Linked DNA regions of Homo sapiens: regions 1, 2, 3 and 4 are each linked to region 5. The links are contacts of gene promoters, found by promoter capture Hi-C in blood cells and fetal thymus (Javierre and others, 2016). All regions are on one chromosome and are shown on one strand. Each heading gives the region's core, a stretch centred on a gene start or on the middle of the fragment in contact. The rest is flanking DNA. Distances are from core to core; before and after follow the strand shown.

The links. Contacts are between HindIII fragments. The CHiCAGO score rates a contact against its expected background, and 5 or more counts as called.
Region 1: a contact is called between a fragment that was not itself captured here and the fragment with the promoter of LRRC73 in region 5, in 1 of 17 cell types (naive B cells). The highest score is 5.6, in naive B cells.
Region 2: the fragment with the promoter of SRF here is called in contact with the fragment with the promoter of LRRC73 in region 5 in 8 of 17 cell types (megakaryocytes, endothelial precursors, erythroblasts and 5 more); the score reaches 6.2 in megakaryocytes.
Region 3: a contact is called between a fragment that was not itself captured here and the fragment with the promoter of LRRC73 in region 5, in 10 of 17 cell types (naive B cells, endothelial precursors, total B cells and 7 more). The highest score is 7.1, in naive B cells.
Region 4: a fragment that was not itself captured here is called in contact with the fragment with the promoter of LRRC73 in region 5 in 1 of 17 cell types (naive B cells); the score reaches 5.8 in naive B cells.

What each region holds. Positions count from the first base shown.
Region 1 is chr6:43,016,815-43,019,514 of GRCh38, reverse strand. It overlaps KLHDC3 (kelch domain containing 3), which reads right to left. Exons shown (of 11, transcript NM_057161.4): 2 at 2,169-2,381; 3 at 1,820-1,996; 4 at 1,547-1,662; 5 at 1,299-1,370; 6 at 959-1,172; 7 at 796-882; 8 at 544-652; 9 at 350-423; 10 at 149-227. The coding sequence starts at 2,322. It also overlaps a transcript of MEA1 not described here. Among named protein-coding and RNA genes, the nearest start is that of RRP36, 3.5 kb to the left of the region's middle. The HindIII fragment of the contact is 2,971 bases long and covers 1-2,700 here.
Region 2 is chr6:43,169,976-43,172,675 of GRCh38, reverse strand. SRF (serum response factor) reads right to left here and starts at 1,407. Exons shown (of 7, transcript NM_003131.4): 1 at 507-1,407. The coding sequence starts at 1,019. RefSeq lists enhancers at 1-188, 1-447, 1,474-2,203 and a silencer at 919-1,498. The HindIII fragment of the contact is 6,652 bases long and covers 1-2,700 here.
Region 3 is chr6:43,187,511-43,190,210 of GRCh38, reverse strand. CUL9 (cullin 9) reads right to left here. Exons shown (of 41, transcript NM_015089.4): 7 at 2,093-2,498; 8 at 1,496-1,688. Among named protein-coding and RNA genes, the nearest start is that of CUL9, 6.7 kb to the right of the region's middle. RefSeq lists an enhancer at 2,632-2,700. The HindIII fragment of the contact is 199 bases long and covers 1,204-1,402 here.
Region 4 is chr6:43,205,552-43,208,302 of GRCh38, reverse strand. It overlaps CUL9 (cullin 9), which reads right to left. Exons shown (of 41, transcript NM_015089.4): 25 at 2,068-2,296; 26 at 1,793-1,982. Among named protein-coding and RNA genes, the nearest start is that of DNPH1, 23 kb to the left of the region's middle. The HindIII fragment of the contact is 3,481 bases long and covers 1-2,751 here.
Region 5 is chr6:43,508,933-43,511,672 of GRCh38, reverse strand. LRRC73 (leucine rich repeat containing 73) reads left to right here and starts at 1,327. Exons shown (of 6, transcript NM_001012974.4): 1 at 1,327-2,159. The coding sequence starts at 1,888. RefSeq lists silencers at 1,170-1,459, 1,480-1,749. The HindIII fragment of the contact is 9,076 bases long and covers 1-2,740 here.

The DNA of each region.
Region 1 (2,700 bases), core at 147-2,646, 490 kb after region 5:
TCCTTCCATCTCATTTCCCACAAGTACACTACATCTCCAGCAGAACAAAAATGTCTGTCTCCTCCATACTGAAACCAAGCTAATCAGGTCACACCTGTGCTGCTCACTCACCCTCACTCAATCCCTCCCTTCCAACCACTCGCTGTACCTGATATCATGAGGCAAACAGGACTGGTCTAGGTTATACTGAATCACGGCCAGTTTGCACAGAGTCTTCAGACTAGGGCCTTTAAGGGAGAAGTTGTGGAAAGGAGATGGTCAAAGGTGAGGAAAGGATCCAGTCCTGGATATCACCACCCAAAGACAGGGACCTTGATGGCAGGAGCAATTCAGGAATAACTATACTTACTAAAGTCCAAAATGTGTAAGTCAGAATGATCTATAAGGTCAAATTCATCTCCCAGGCCTTCCTCAGGAGATGGACTGTCGGGATCAAAAGAGAGATGAAAGTAGGACAAAAACTACCCACGAAACCCCCTTTTCAAATACCTCCCACTCTCCCATTAGTGACTTCCCTGAGCCCCTTCCCTCTCTCCTTCTAACCTGGTACCCCCAAAGAGGACAATCTTGTCACCAACAATACAGCAGCACTGGCGCCGGCGGGGACATGGCCCCTTCCCCTTCGGTTCAATCTTTTTCCAGGTAAAGGACACTGAAGAGAAATTTATATGGAAGTTCAATACCTGCCTAGTCCAGGTATCTTCCCCACCCCCATCCCTCACCGCCTCAGGATTATTTTCTTTTCCTCCCACCTCAATTGCTCCTTGTTCCTGCCCTAAATGCAGTGCTCTTTACCAGGATTAAACTTCCAGAGGTCATGGAAGTGCCGGTTCAGCCTTGCATTATAACCACCAAAGATGTACAGCTCCCCATTGTAGCCAACTGGAAGGAGAGAGGAAGTGTCAGGAGTGTGAAGAGGGCAGGAAGGGAACTCCACAGGGAAGTAACAAACACTCACAGGCCGAGTGGCTCCGGCGCCCCTCAGGCAGCACTGGAGTCGGGGGACAGTCCAGCCAAGCCTCAGTTCTGGTGTCAAAGACTCGAATGCGGTTGCAGTAAATCTCATTGTTGGAATGGAATGGCCCAAAGCGGTCGGCACGGCCCCCAAAGACATACATGTGACTTCCCAGCATTGTGGCTGAGTGGAAGTCCCTCCAGCGTGCAGGGCTGCCCTGGGCAGAGGCAGAGAGATGGTGGAGGGGTCAGCACAAAGACTGGAAGAGGATCTCCTCTGACTGAGCTTCCTATCATTGCTTCAACAGAGGGTGGGGATTTGGGAAAAAAAAGAAAGAGCAGACCTTTGTACAGATAAGAGTCCATGTCATGGTGCTGGTATCTAGCTTGTGAATGTCATTGGAAAAACAGTCCGCCTGAGTAGGAAGAGAAAAGGAGGAAGAAAAGAGGGAGCCAATGGTCACTCTCTGACCCTCCATCCCTCCCCTCAAAACCTGCAAACAAGCCAAAGCCTCCCATTTCACCATCCTAAATTGCCCTTCCCCTCTTTCTCAGTCCCACCCTAAACCTCTTATTTTATTCCCAGACCTACCTGCTGCTCGTAGCCCCCAAAAATGTACATGATCTTGCCTAGGACACAGGCTGAATGTCCATCCCGGGCCCCAGGAACTGTCCCTGACACTCGGGGTGTGAACCACTTGTGCGTATCTGAAGGAGATGAGAAAATGGCTCAACTAAGCACCCTCTATGACAGTCCCTCCTCAGCTCTGGGGTACTCTACTCCCCAAGACCCCCAACCCAAACCTTTCTTGGGCAACTGAGGCAACATCTGGAAGGACATAGCCTCTCTGAGATCCATACTCACTGACGTCAAAGGCATAGAGCACATTGCAGGCCCCTTCGGTGTCATTCCGCCCGCCCCAAAGGAGGACTGTGTCGTCGATGAGGACGGTTGAGTGTCCATAGCGCATGTAGGGTACCACAGGAGCTTGCCCACGGATGGCAGACTTCACCGGGGGCAGCTTTGTCCAACGCAAGGACACTGTGGGCACAGCTCTGCTCAGCCCTGGGAACCTCCCTCCAGGCTGTCCACTTTTCCCAAACCAGATGTTTGTCCCCAATCCCCTTGGTCCCAGAGACCACAGCCAAACCTCATCAGCAGCCCGTTCCCACCCTGATGTGGGGACCCAGGGACAGCCCCAGCATTGGCTTACCTGCATTGAAAATGTGCACATCTATCTGACGCAGTGTCTCATAGTCTTCACCAGAGCAGTAACCCCCGAAGGAGTATACCCGATGCCCGACAGCCACTGCAGCATGGTTCACCCTGCGGGGCCCGCCCTCCAGGTGCACTGTCCACCGTAACATCCCCTGGGCCACTGGTTACAGCAACATGCCCCCCCGGCACGGCCTGCTGCCTCTGCTATCTGCACACAAATTGGGGCCACGGGATCCTCAGGCGAGGCTTCTGCCCAGCTCACTGTGACTCTGCCCAGAACCAGCCTTTGCCTCCAAGTGTCACCCTGGGGGCCCTCCCACACTACCCCTCCACAGGGGCACTAGTCTCAGCTCAGGTGGCTGGCCCTGCCCCAAGGGAGCTGCCGAGGTCAGGGAGCAGCCTGGGCCCAGTGTTCTCCAACAGTGAAGGGTGGGGCCACCCCCACCTGATTGCCAGCTCAGAATCTGCATATCATGGTCACAACCTACTCGTGGAGGCTCCACTCTGTCCCTGGCTTGGCACAAACT
Region 2 (2,700 bases), core at 158-2,657, 340 kb after region 5:
CTGTCCTTCCAACCAGCACTACTCTCGTGGTGCCCACTTCCTCCCACACATGTTCGCTCATTGTTGTCATGCAGCTCCAGCCTCCTCACCTCCATACCTTCTCGTTTGCTCCCTGCTTTTCCGGCGCCCTCGTCCGAACACCGGAGTGCACTGGACCTACTGATCCCGGGTTCTCATTATCCACCTCCCCGGCAGCCTCGTAGCCTCCCATCACCGCTCCTCACCCCTTCACTCAGCAAGGGCCCTCTTCCTCTCTGGCGCCGGTCACTCCCACCTCTGCGCCTTTCCCCACGGTTGCGAGCGTTCGCGGGATCTCCCCTCTCCCCACATTTCCCCGGCGGCCCCTCCCCTTCGGCCCTCCCCGGGCAGGAGCCATCCCCTCCCACACACCTCCTGCGGACTCGCAGCCTCTCACCTCCGCCTCGGCTCTGCGGTCCTCCCGGGCTCCCTTTGCACATCCCCACCCCAACCGGGCCCCGGGGCCGGCCAGCCCCCCGGCTTGGTACCTTCTTCATGATGCCCGTCTTCCTCTTGCTGAAGGTCGTGTAGCGCCGCAGCTTGTTGTCGATGAACTCCATCTTGATCTTCACGCGGCCCCGGGTCTTCTTACCCGGCTTGGCCCCGCTCACCGCGCCGCTCACCGGCCCGTAGCCCCCGGTGGCCGCTGCCGACGCCTCGGGCCCACCGACCACCATACCGATCTCCATCTCGCTCAGGCTCCGCTTCAGGCCGCGCCGCTCGGCGCCCAGCTCCTCCTCCTCGCCCGACTCCGAGTCGCCCTCGCTGCCGCTGTAGAGGGCCCCCGCGGTGGGCGCCGGGGTGGTTGCCGCCGCTGCCGCAGCCTCCCGCTCCAGGCGGCCGGGCCCGAGCCCCGCGCCATTCCCGGGGACCCGGCCCCCGTTAGCCCCGCGTGTCCCGCCGCCGCCGCCCGGCCGCCCCGTCGGGGTCCGGTTCAGGCTGCCCCCCAGGGCCGAGCCCCGGCCCAGAGCCGCCGCGGCCCCAGCTTGGGTCGGTAACATGGCGCTCGATGCAGGAGGGCGGACGGGCAGTCAGCGAGGAATCGGAGCCGCCGCAGCCGCCGCCATCGGCTTCCCGGCTCAACCCGGCACTCCCGCTGCTGCTAGTGCCGCTATCGCTGCCGCGGCCGCCGCTGCGAACCCGGGGCCCCTGCACGCCCGGGCCGACCTGGGCCCTCACTTTCCTGCCCCTGTGGCCCGGGTTGCCCCAGGCCGCGCGCAGCGCCCCCTGTCCGTCTGCTAGGGCGGCGCGCCGGGCGGCCGTCAGCGTCCCCCGGGGGGCAGGGGCTGCTGGCCGCGGCCGAGACGGCGGGTGGAGGGGGCCGGGACCACGCGCTGGCGGCGGAGGGATCCCCCGACCCTTCCCCCCATATAAAGAGATACAATGTTTCCTTTTATGGCGAGGCCGCTCCTTATATGGTGAGCCCCAGCGCCCCCGCCCCATTGGTCCGTGGTTCCGGCACCTCCGCTCCCCATTGGCCCACAAGAGGGCGCTTATTTGCATAGACATACCGAACTCGTTGCTGTCATCTCGCGTCAGACCGCGACTCTGAGAGGGGTGGAGCCGACGCCTCTTAAAGGAACCGGAGAGCAGGCACGATTCCGCCTCCCTGAACCCGAGAATGATAGAACGGTTTGGGAGGCACCCGCGGAGAAGGAGGCTGGGACTGGAGCGCAGTCTTGCGGAAGAGAGGGAGCAGCACTAGTAAATGGGCACCGGGACCGCTGGAGGCAAACACTGGGGAAACCCCTGGGTGGATTGTGGGGTTTGCAGTAAATAAAAAAATACAGCCCAAATTCCAAGGGAGGAGTGCAGGGATTGATTGGAGCATTTCCTCACGCCTTCCTAAGGGAGGCACAGTTATTGGCTGAGCGGAGAGAGCTTGGGTCCCCGCCCGGTGTCCAGACTCGTCGCGCCCCAGCCTCTCAGCTCTAACTTTTCCCCTACCCCCAACTTCCCTTCCCTTTCCCTCGCTTTTGTAGGCGACGAAACTTTCCCACCGGGCTGGCTCGAGGATCTTCATTCATCATCCTCTGCACTGGGGGGTCTTTGGCAGACATACATCTGGAAAAGGCTGGTGGAGGGGAGGGCGAGAGAGAGAGATCGGCCTCCCAGTCCTGAGGCGGGCAGGGAGGAGAGACGGAGATCAGGGAGGAGAGATGGAGATCAGTGAAGACTTCCAGCTGCAGGCTGGACTTGGGGAGGAGGACGTCCCGAGGATAAAGCCCACCCTACAGCCAGTGCAAAGACTTGGGAAAGTGTGGCCCGACAGAAAGTTTAAGCCCAAGCAAGCACGCTCGCGCACACACACGCACATACACACACTTCTCTGGAAAGCCCGTTGGAGAAAAAAAAAAAAGTTTCACACAGGGTATCGCTCTGTCGCCCAACCTGGAGTGCAGTGGCGGGATCTGAGCTCATTGCAACCTCTGCCTCCCGGGTTCAAGCGATTCTCCCACCTCCGCCTCTCACGTAGCTGGAACTACAGGTGCGCGCCACCACTCTGGCCTAATTTTTGTATTTTTTGTAGAGATGGGGTTTTGCCATGTTGCCCAGACTGGTTTCGAACTCCTGGCCTCAAGCGATCCTTCCCCCTCGGCTTCCCAAAGTGCTGGGATTATAGGCATGAACCACCGTGCCCAGCAGAAAAAAAAAAAAAAAAAAAAAAAAACTTAAAAGATT
Region 3 (2,700 bases), core at 54-2,553, 320 kb after region 5:
AGATAGATTAAAAAAGACGACAATATTCAGTGTTGGCAGACGTAAGGAAAAACAGACGCGTTAGAACACTGCACTTGAAACTGGAGATAACCACACTGCAGGGTCCCATGCAGCAGTAAAAATAATGAGGCAGCTCCACCCAGACTGATATGGAAAGCCCTCTAAGACACTGAGCGGGGGCAAAAAAAAAAAAGTTGTAGAAACATGTAGAATGTGATTACATAGACTAAAACAAAGACTCAGAAAATGCTCTATTTCCAAACACACAATTACAAATGCAAATCTGTAGGATATAGTAGACTGATAACAGTGGTGAGAAAGGACTTTGGCCCTCCTATGTCCTTTTACATTCTTCAGATCTTTTAAAATGAGAATGCGGCTGGGCATGGTGGCTCACACCTGTAATCCCAGCACTTTGGGAGACTGGATCATCTGAGGTTAGGAGTTCGAGACCAGCCTGGCCAACAGGGTGAAACCCCGTCTCTACTAAAATACAAAAATTAGCTGGGCCTGGTGGTGGGCACCTGTAATCCCAGCTACTTGGGAGGCTGAGACATAAGAACTGCTTGAACCCAGGAGGCGGAGGTTGCAGTGAGCCAAGATCACACTATTGCACTCTAGCCTGGGTGACAGAGTGAGACTCTGTCTCAAAAACAAGTAAATAAATAAAAATAAATAAATAGAATGAGAATAAGTTGTGTGTTATTTGTATAATTTAAAAGTAGAGGGCTGGACGCGGTGGCTCACGCCTGCAATCCCAGCACTTTGGGAGGCCGAGGCAGGCAGATCACGAGGTCAGAAGATCGAGACCATCCTGGCAAACATGATGAAACCCTGTCTCTACTAAAAGTACAAAAATTAGCTGGGTGTGGTGGTGCCTGTAATCCCAGCTACTTGGGAGGCTGAGGCGGGAGAATCCCTTGAACCCGGGAGGCAGAGGTTGCAGTGAGCCGAGATCGCGCCACTGCACTCCAGCATGACGACATAGCAAGACTGTCTCAAAAATAAATAAATAAAGGTAGAAAAAAATTTAAAATAAAGTAGGTTTTAAGGTCTAATGTGAAAAAAAAAAAGTACGTAGGGACAGAAAAAAAAGAAAAAGAAAGAGAAAAAACTCCAGTTCTAGAGCCAAAAAGACCTAGGTTTGAATCCTGGCTCTGCTATCTGTAAAACTCTAAGCAAGTTACTTAAATTCTCTAAGCTTCAGTTTCCTCACCCATATAGTAGGATAATAATATTACCAACGCTTCCTCAGGTGTTAGGTGGATTTAATGAGAGAATGCATGTAAAATACTAGCACAGTGCCTGGCATAACAGAAGTGCTCCAAGAATACGAGCCATTAAAACATCCAACCCTCCTGCTCGGCTGCTCCTCAGGCTGAGCCTTCCCTCACCCCAAGCTTTTCTAATTCGTGATCTCAAAGCTCCTTCCCCGCTACCACCATCCTTTGCCTACAGCTTCAACCAAAACCTCTTCCCTCCCCAGTATGCTAACCTCAGCGATCTGTCAGGACGGACCAGAGGGTGGTCCCGCTCAGTGACCTCCTCCACAGCCTGAGAGAGGGCAGAGAGCCCTGAAAGCTGCAGGTTTGTGTCCAAGCTGGATATCTGCACAGTGGCCACGACCGCTGCCACATGCTGATCCAGGGAGCTGCGAGGACCGGGACCCCGCAAGGCTCTGGCCATTTCTGAAATTGGTGGGAAAAGGCAATGGCTAAAAGAACTGTGGCACCTTGAAGTTAGAAGTCTTTAAAGTCAAGCCCAGTTATCCTACCAATATTTAAACACATTATCGGCTACTGCAGCTTGCAGAGTTTTCCAATTCTGTGTCAGGGATCTAATGATCAAACAAAGGAGATGAAGACACCCCAGAAAACGGATCCTCCTTTTCCAGAGATACTGAAGGAAGGGAGCGCTGGTTAATTAAATACAATCAAGGTCAAAAGGAAGAAGATGGACGCATGGTTCCAAGGCATTTTCCCCTGCAAAAATCACCTTCCTCCATGGCTTTCCTTCGATCCTGACTATCCATTTCTTCTACTGAGACTACCCAGGACTTGTTCCAATTGCTTCCTCCCAGAACCTGACTCACCACTGGCTGCCTCCTTCATCTCAGTGGGCAGGGTCATCCCCTCAGTCACCAGAAGCTGGTTAAACAGCTGAGAATCACTCTGTGCCATGGGGGTCTCGGTCCTTGTCTTGGTGGGCTCGGCCTCTGTCTTAGGGGCCTCGGCCTTTGCTTTGAGGGACTCAGTCTCTTCCTCTGAGAAGCTGGCCTCCGACTTGGACTCCTCTTCTGGATCTGGGGTACAGGAGTGATTTCGTGAAGTAGACGAGCTGCTTGGTTCATTAGACAGCAGCCCATACTTGGTGTAGATCTGGGAGTTGAGCAGGTCATTGAGAGTGCTGCCCTCAAATCGACTACTGAGAACCTGCAGCAGACTCTCGGCCATTTCCACGGACACAGAGATCTCACCTAGGGCCTTTTCACCCAGGGTCTGTCAACAGAAGGGGTATACGTTTAAGAGACAAGCAGACACAAAGGTCTTGGGGTCAGTAATGGGAAGGGTGATCACTCCCTACCATGCCCCCACACCTTCTACATACTAGACCCTCACAGCACTTGCCTCCAACCCCCAGCAGGACTCCTCCTAACTCTAATCTCTAGCTCCAGCCTCCCCCTAAGCGGTAACCCCTATC
Region 4 (2,751 bases), core at 167-2,666, 300 kb after region 5:
TTGAACCCAGGAGGCGGAGGTTGCAGTGAGCCAAGATCAAGCCACTGTACTCCAGCCTGGGTGACAGAGTGAGACTCTGTCTCAAAAAAATTAAAATAAAATAATAAACTGATTACAATTAAATTATTTAGTTCCTCAGTTATATTAGCCACATTCCAAGTACTTAATTGCCACCAATGACTATCATACTGAACGGTGCAGAAAAGAATTTTTCAATCATTGCAGAAAGTTCTACTGGATAGCACTGTTAAACTATTTTAACCTTCTAACAAAATAGCCAAAAAATATATATACAGTTAAACCAGTATGATTAGCGGTTTTAAAAAATTCACCATCATAGTGGTAGATTTTAGCACACCTCTCTCAGTAGTAGATCAAGTAGACAAAAACTAGTAACTTTACAGAAGATGTGAACAAAACAATTAACAAGGTCAATTTGGTGAAATATGTAGAATCCAGTTAAGAATACACATTCTTCTTAATCATACATGAAACAGGTAAAATATGACCATCTACCAGGCCATAACGAAGTCTCAATAAACTGCAAAGATTCAGAATCATAGAAACCATGCTCTTTGGCCACAGGGGAATGAGGTTAGAAATATAAAACAAAAAAAAATTAAACAAAGAAAAACTTGTTTGGAAATTAAAATATATATTCTTCTGAAAAACAAAATAAAGAAATAATAATAGAAATTTAACAATTCTTAGAACTAAACAATAATAAAAATAATACGTAATAAAAACTTACAGAACATCCCAAATGCCCATAAACAGCAGAAAGGGTAAATACATCCATACAATGGAATATGACTCAGCAAAATAAATGAATAAACTAATGATACCCTTGACAACCTGAATAACCCTCACAGACAGTATGTTTCGTGAAAGACATCAGACACAGCAGAATACTGTATGATTCCATTTATATGATGTTCAAATACAGGCACAAATCTATGGTGATAAAGGTTAAAAATAATGATTTCTCCTGGAAGAAGACATTGACTGGAAAGGGGGCATGAAGGAGACAGCCTTCTACGATGCTGGAAATGTTCTGTATCTTGATGGGGGTATGAGGGAGGTAGATACATGGGTGTATATGAATATAATAATTCATGAAGCCTTATAATTAAGACGTGTGCACTTTACTGAATACTAGTTATATCCCAATCTAAAAAATCTTTTTGGCCGGGCACAGTGGCTCACTGAGGCGGGTGGATCACCTGAGGTCAGGAGTTTGAGACCAGCCTGGTTAACATGGTGAAACCCCGTCACTACTAAAAATACACAATTAGCCGGGTGTGGTGGCATACGCCTGTAGTCCCAGCTACTTGGGAGGCTGAGACAGGAGAATCGCTTGAACCCGGGAGGTAGAGGCTGCAGTGAGCAGAGATTACACCACTGCACTCTGGTCTGGGTGACAGAGTGAGACTCCATGTCAAAAAAATAAAGAAAAAAAATCTTTTAAAACTTTATAGGATGCCACTAAAGCAGTATTGAGAGGGAAATGAATAGTCTTAAACACTTTTATTTGGAAAAAAGTCTGAAAAGACTAAAAATCAAATAAGCACCTCACTTGAAGTTAGAAAAAGAAAACAGAACAAATTCATAGAAAGTTGAAGAAACTGATGAGAGCAGAAATTAATGAAACTACAACCCATGCTTTCTCATCCCTCGCTAGGAGCTGATATTTTTCTTCACATCTATATCCTGTCCAAAGGTCCTCTCCTCTTCCTCTCTTGCCACCCCGAATCTCACCCCGATCTCCAATTTCCTCTCCCTAGTTCCTCACTCTGGCTGTAGAAACTGGAGAAACGGTCAAGGGCATCACAGAATTCTGTGGGAAGGCACTTTCTGGGATGGTACAGGTAGCAGAGTGGGGAGACGGGCCAGCAGCGTGGTGACAGGACCAGTATAGAAATGGCTGGACTTGGATCTTCGATAAATAATTCTTTCTCAGCTTCCTCTTCCTCCTCTTCCTCCTGAGGGACAGAAGGATTTCAAGGGCCCTTGGGCTCCCTTCCTTGGTCTAGTCTTCTCTCACTCTCCTATTCTCCCTGCTCTTACCTCCTCTTCCTCTAGTCTCTTTTCCTCCTCATCTTCCTGCTCCAAGAACAACTTGTCGAGCCGCTGGAGCTGGAAGAGGTGGAACTGGCGCTGCAGCTCCTCAGAGGTGCTCAGGCTCTGCAGCATCAGCTGTGGGAGGCGGTTGGGAAAACAGAGGCCAATCTGCTCTAGCACAGCCCCCTCCAGCCAGCTCGAACCAAAGCTCAGGAGACGGTCCGCCATATAATGCCTGCAGCACACACAGCCCGGGCCAAGCCTCAGTGTGGGTGCCAGCGTGGCCCAGCCTCCCCCTCGAGAATGTAGGTCCCTCTGTCCCTCTGCCTGAGTCACATACCCTACCTCACCTCTTCTTTCCCACTCCCTTTCCACCAATGCATGACCACCTCCACTTTTTTTTTTTTTTTTTGAGACGGAGTCTTGCTCTTGTCACCCAGGCTGAAGTGCAATGACGTGGTCTTGGCTCACTGCAACCTCTGCCTCCCGGGTTCAAGAGATTCACCTGCCTCACCCTCCCGAATAGCTGGGATTACAGGTGCCTGCCACCACGCCACCACACCTGGCTAATTTTTGTATTTTTAGTAGAGAAAGGGTTTCACCATGTTGGTCAGGCTGGTCTTGAACTCCTGACCTCAGGTGATCTGCCTGCCAGAATGCTGGGATTACATGCGTGAGCCACCGCGCCTG
Region 5 (2,740 bases), core at 78-2,577:
ATCACACCTGACCCATGAAGCGGCAGGGAGGCCTCAAGCACAAAAGCCATAAGCCTGATGGAACACTGCAGCCAGCTTGAGTCTGGGCTCAGCTGCTCTCTTGGGAAGCCAAGGAAGCAGTGACAATTGAACAAAACATCCCGACTTAAACCCCGTGTCAAAACAAGGATCTTCTGCACCTGGGCATTGTGTTGATAATTTTCCTGTGGAGCTCTTAATTGAAGCCAAATTTGGCTTTGCCTTGGTGGTACTGGGGCCAGCTCCTTTTAGTTTTTCTGTCTTTCCTCTTAAAACCAACCACCACTCCTAACATAGCACCATCCACCCCCACCACCTCTTTAATATGCTCCACTTAATAAGTTAATTCAGGTGGCTAAGAGTGGGAATAGGGCCTTTGACCTCCCTTCACTATATTGAATATTATATTTTATGTAAAATAATCATCTTAACACTAGTAAATCTGGGTCAGCAGCATCTATCCCTCCTAACAAAGGGACAAACAGAGGTGCCCTTCATTTGTCCTGCGTTACACAAGTGAGTCCCCCACCACCCTGGCCAGAGGACAAAGTTGAGACAGCACCGCCTGCACCGTGCAGTGTGGCTCAGCCGCCTTCACGTCCTCACCAGTGCTCCAGGGCCCTGGCCCTGGCACCTTCTTTGTATTGGCTGCCCCAGTCTCGCGGCACGGACACACCCTCAGATGTCAACAGTGCCCTGCGTACCTGAGAAGGTGTGGCACCAGGACCTTGCATCTATCTGAGGCTCCCCTGCCCTAGGGACCCTATGGGGTACCCTTCTCCCCAGCAGCTCAAGCTGGCTCTGCCCAGCCGTGGCCCCTGGGGCCTCCCTGATGAGGCCGCCATCTTGGCGAGGAGCAAGCGGGGAAGTCCCCATGGGCCGGGATCACCACGCACGCTGCGCCTCGAGTCACGGGGGCGGGAGCGAGGCGCGGCGCGGATGAAAGGGCCCTGGGGCCTTCCAAATAGGAGGGAACAGTGCCCTGGATTCCGGCGGGGGTATGGACCTTAGGAACGGGGAAGGATGGAAGAATGGGCAGAAGCAGCAGTAACCGTGCCCAACGCCATCTCCACGGGGCGTGCCTCCATTCCGCTCCCCGTCAGCCCTACCCACTCAGCCCTGCCGCCTGCCGCCTGCCAGTTGGCTGACCCCACTCCCAAGGGAAGAGCGGCCTATCGCTCCCAGCTCCTTGCCCCGAACCACCCAGTGTACGCGAACCTCGCGGGCCGGCGTGGCCTTGGCCGGGCAGGGGGCGGGGCGAGCGCCGGTGACGCGGCCGTTGCCATGGGAACTCGCCGCCCGCTCGCTCTCTGGAGCTGGAGCCGGAGCTGCCGCCAGCCGCCCGCCTCAGGCTCTCTCTGCCAGCCGTGCGGCCAGGCCCGCGGGGTGGTCGGGGGGAGCCGGGCGGCAGAGAAGGAGGGAGCGGGTACGGCCTCCTAGCCGAGACCGGTAAGCCGAAGCCCTTGAGCCGCTCGCTGCCGCTGCCGCCGCCGCCGCCGCGACCGCGAGGGACAAGGACAAGCGCCGAGCAGCGCCTGCCCAACCCCCGGAACGCGCACCCGCCCCAACGCCCAGACACGGACCGTGCGGGCCGCCCCCGCCCCAGCGCCGCCCCACTTCAGCCCGGCCCGCGCCCTGGACGCCTCCGCACCTCTGGCCGGCTCCGGCTCAGTCCCGGTAGCTCTTCTCCGCCCCCGCCGCAGCCTCCGCCGCAGCCGCAGCCTCCGCCACAGCCGCCGCCTCCACCCCCGGCCCCACTCCGCCCGCGACCCCTGCCGGGGCCCCGACCCCGGCCCTATCCCCGGCCCCGCCCGCGGCCCCACCAACCTCCGTTCCGGCCCCGTACCCGGAGGCCCAGCCGTGGGCACGATGCTGCCCAGCTCCATCCAGATTTCGGGGGAGCCGCTGTCCGGCGCCGAGGTGCGGGACATCTGCCGCGGCCTTCGCGACAACGCCGTGCGCCTGCTCTCACTGCGCGGCTGCCGCCTCTGCGACCGCGACTTTGGCCGCATCTGCCGGGCCCTGGCCGGGGCCACGTCCCTGGCGCAGCTCAACCTTAACCTGGGCGTCGTGTCCAGCCCCAGCCGCATCAAGCAGCTGGCTGAGGCTCTGCGGACCAACCGCTCCATCCAGTCCCTCTTGTGAGTGCGCCCCCTCGCAAGGGGGTCCCGGGCACTGCACCCTTCCATACACTCCCCTGGCACCTCCTGTTCCTCCACACTCCTTCCAGTACCATCCTACCTTCACATGCCTTATGCACATACACCGTGCCTCGGCCCATGCCTTCACAGCACCCTCCAAGCACATGCTTGGACTTTGCACGCGCGACCCTAGCCGTGTTGGGATACCCACCAGTTCCTGACATGAGGTGGGGGCCGTACCTCCCCACCTAATCATCTGCATTTACTTCACTGGGGCAGCTCCTTGGTTCCCAAGGGGGAATATCCCCGTGGGGACGAGAGCCCTGCCCACTGCAGAGTTCCGGTCCACCACCCACCCACCCCTTCTCTGCCCCTCCCTGTGCAATGTCCTGGATCCCTGCCCCAGAAAACAAACCGAATTCTCCCTCTATCTGTATTCCCTGAGAATCTAGAACTTTCCTTCTCCTTTTCCAGGCCTCTCAAGCGCTGTGACTGCCCTCCCCATACCTAGGGCTGACAGAAGTGAAAGTGCCCCTTTCCCATGTAGATAGTGCGGAGGACTGCAGTAACCCTGCTCTCTC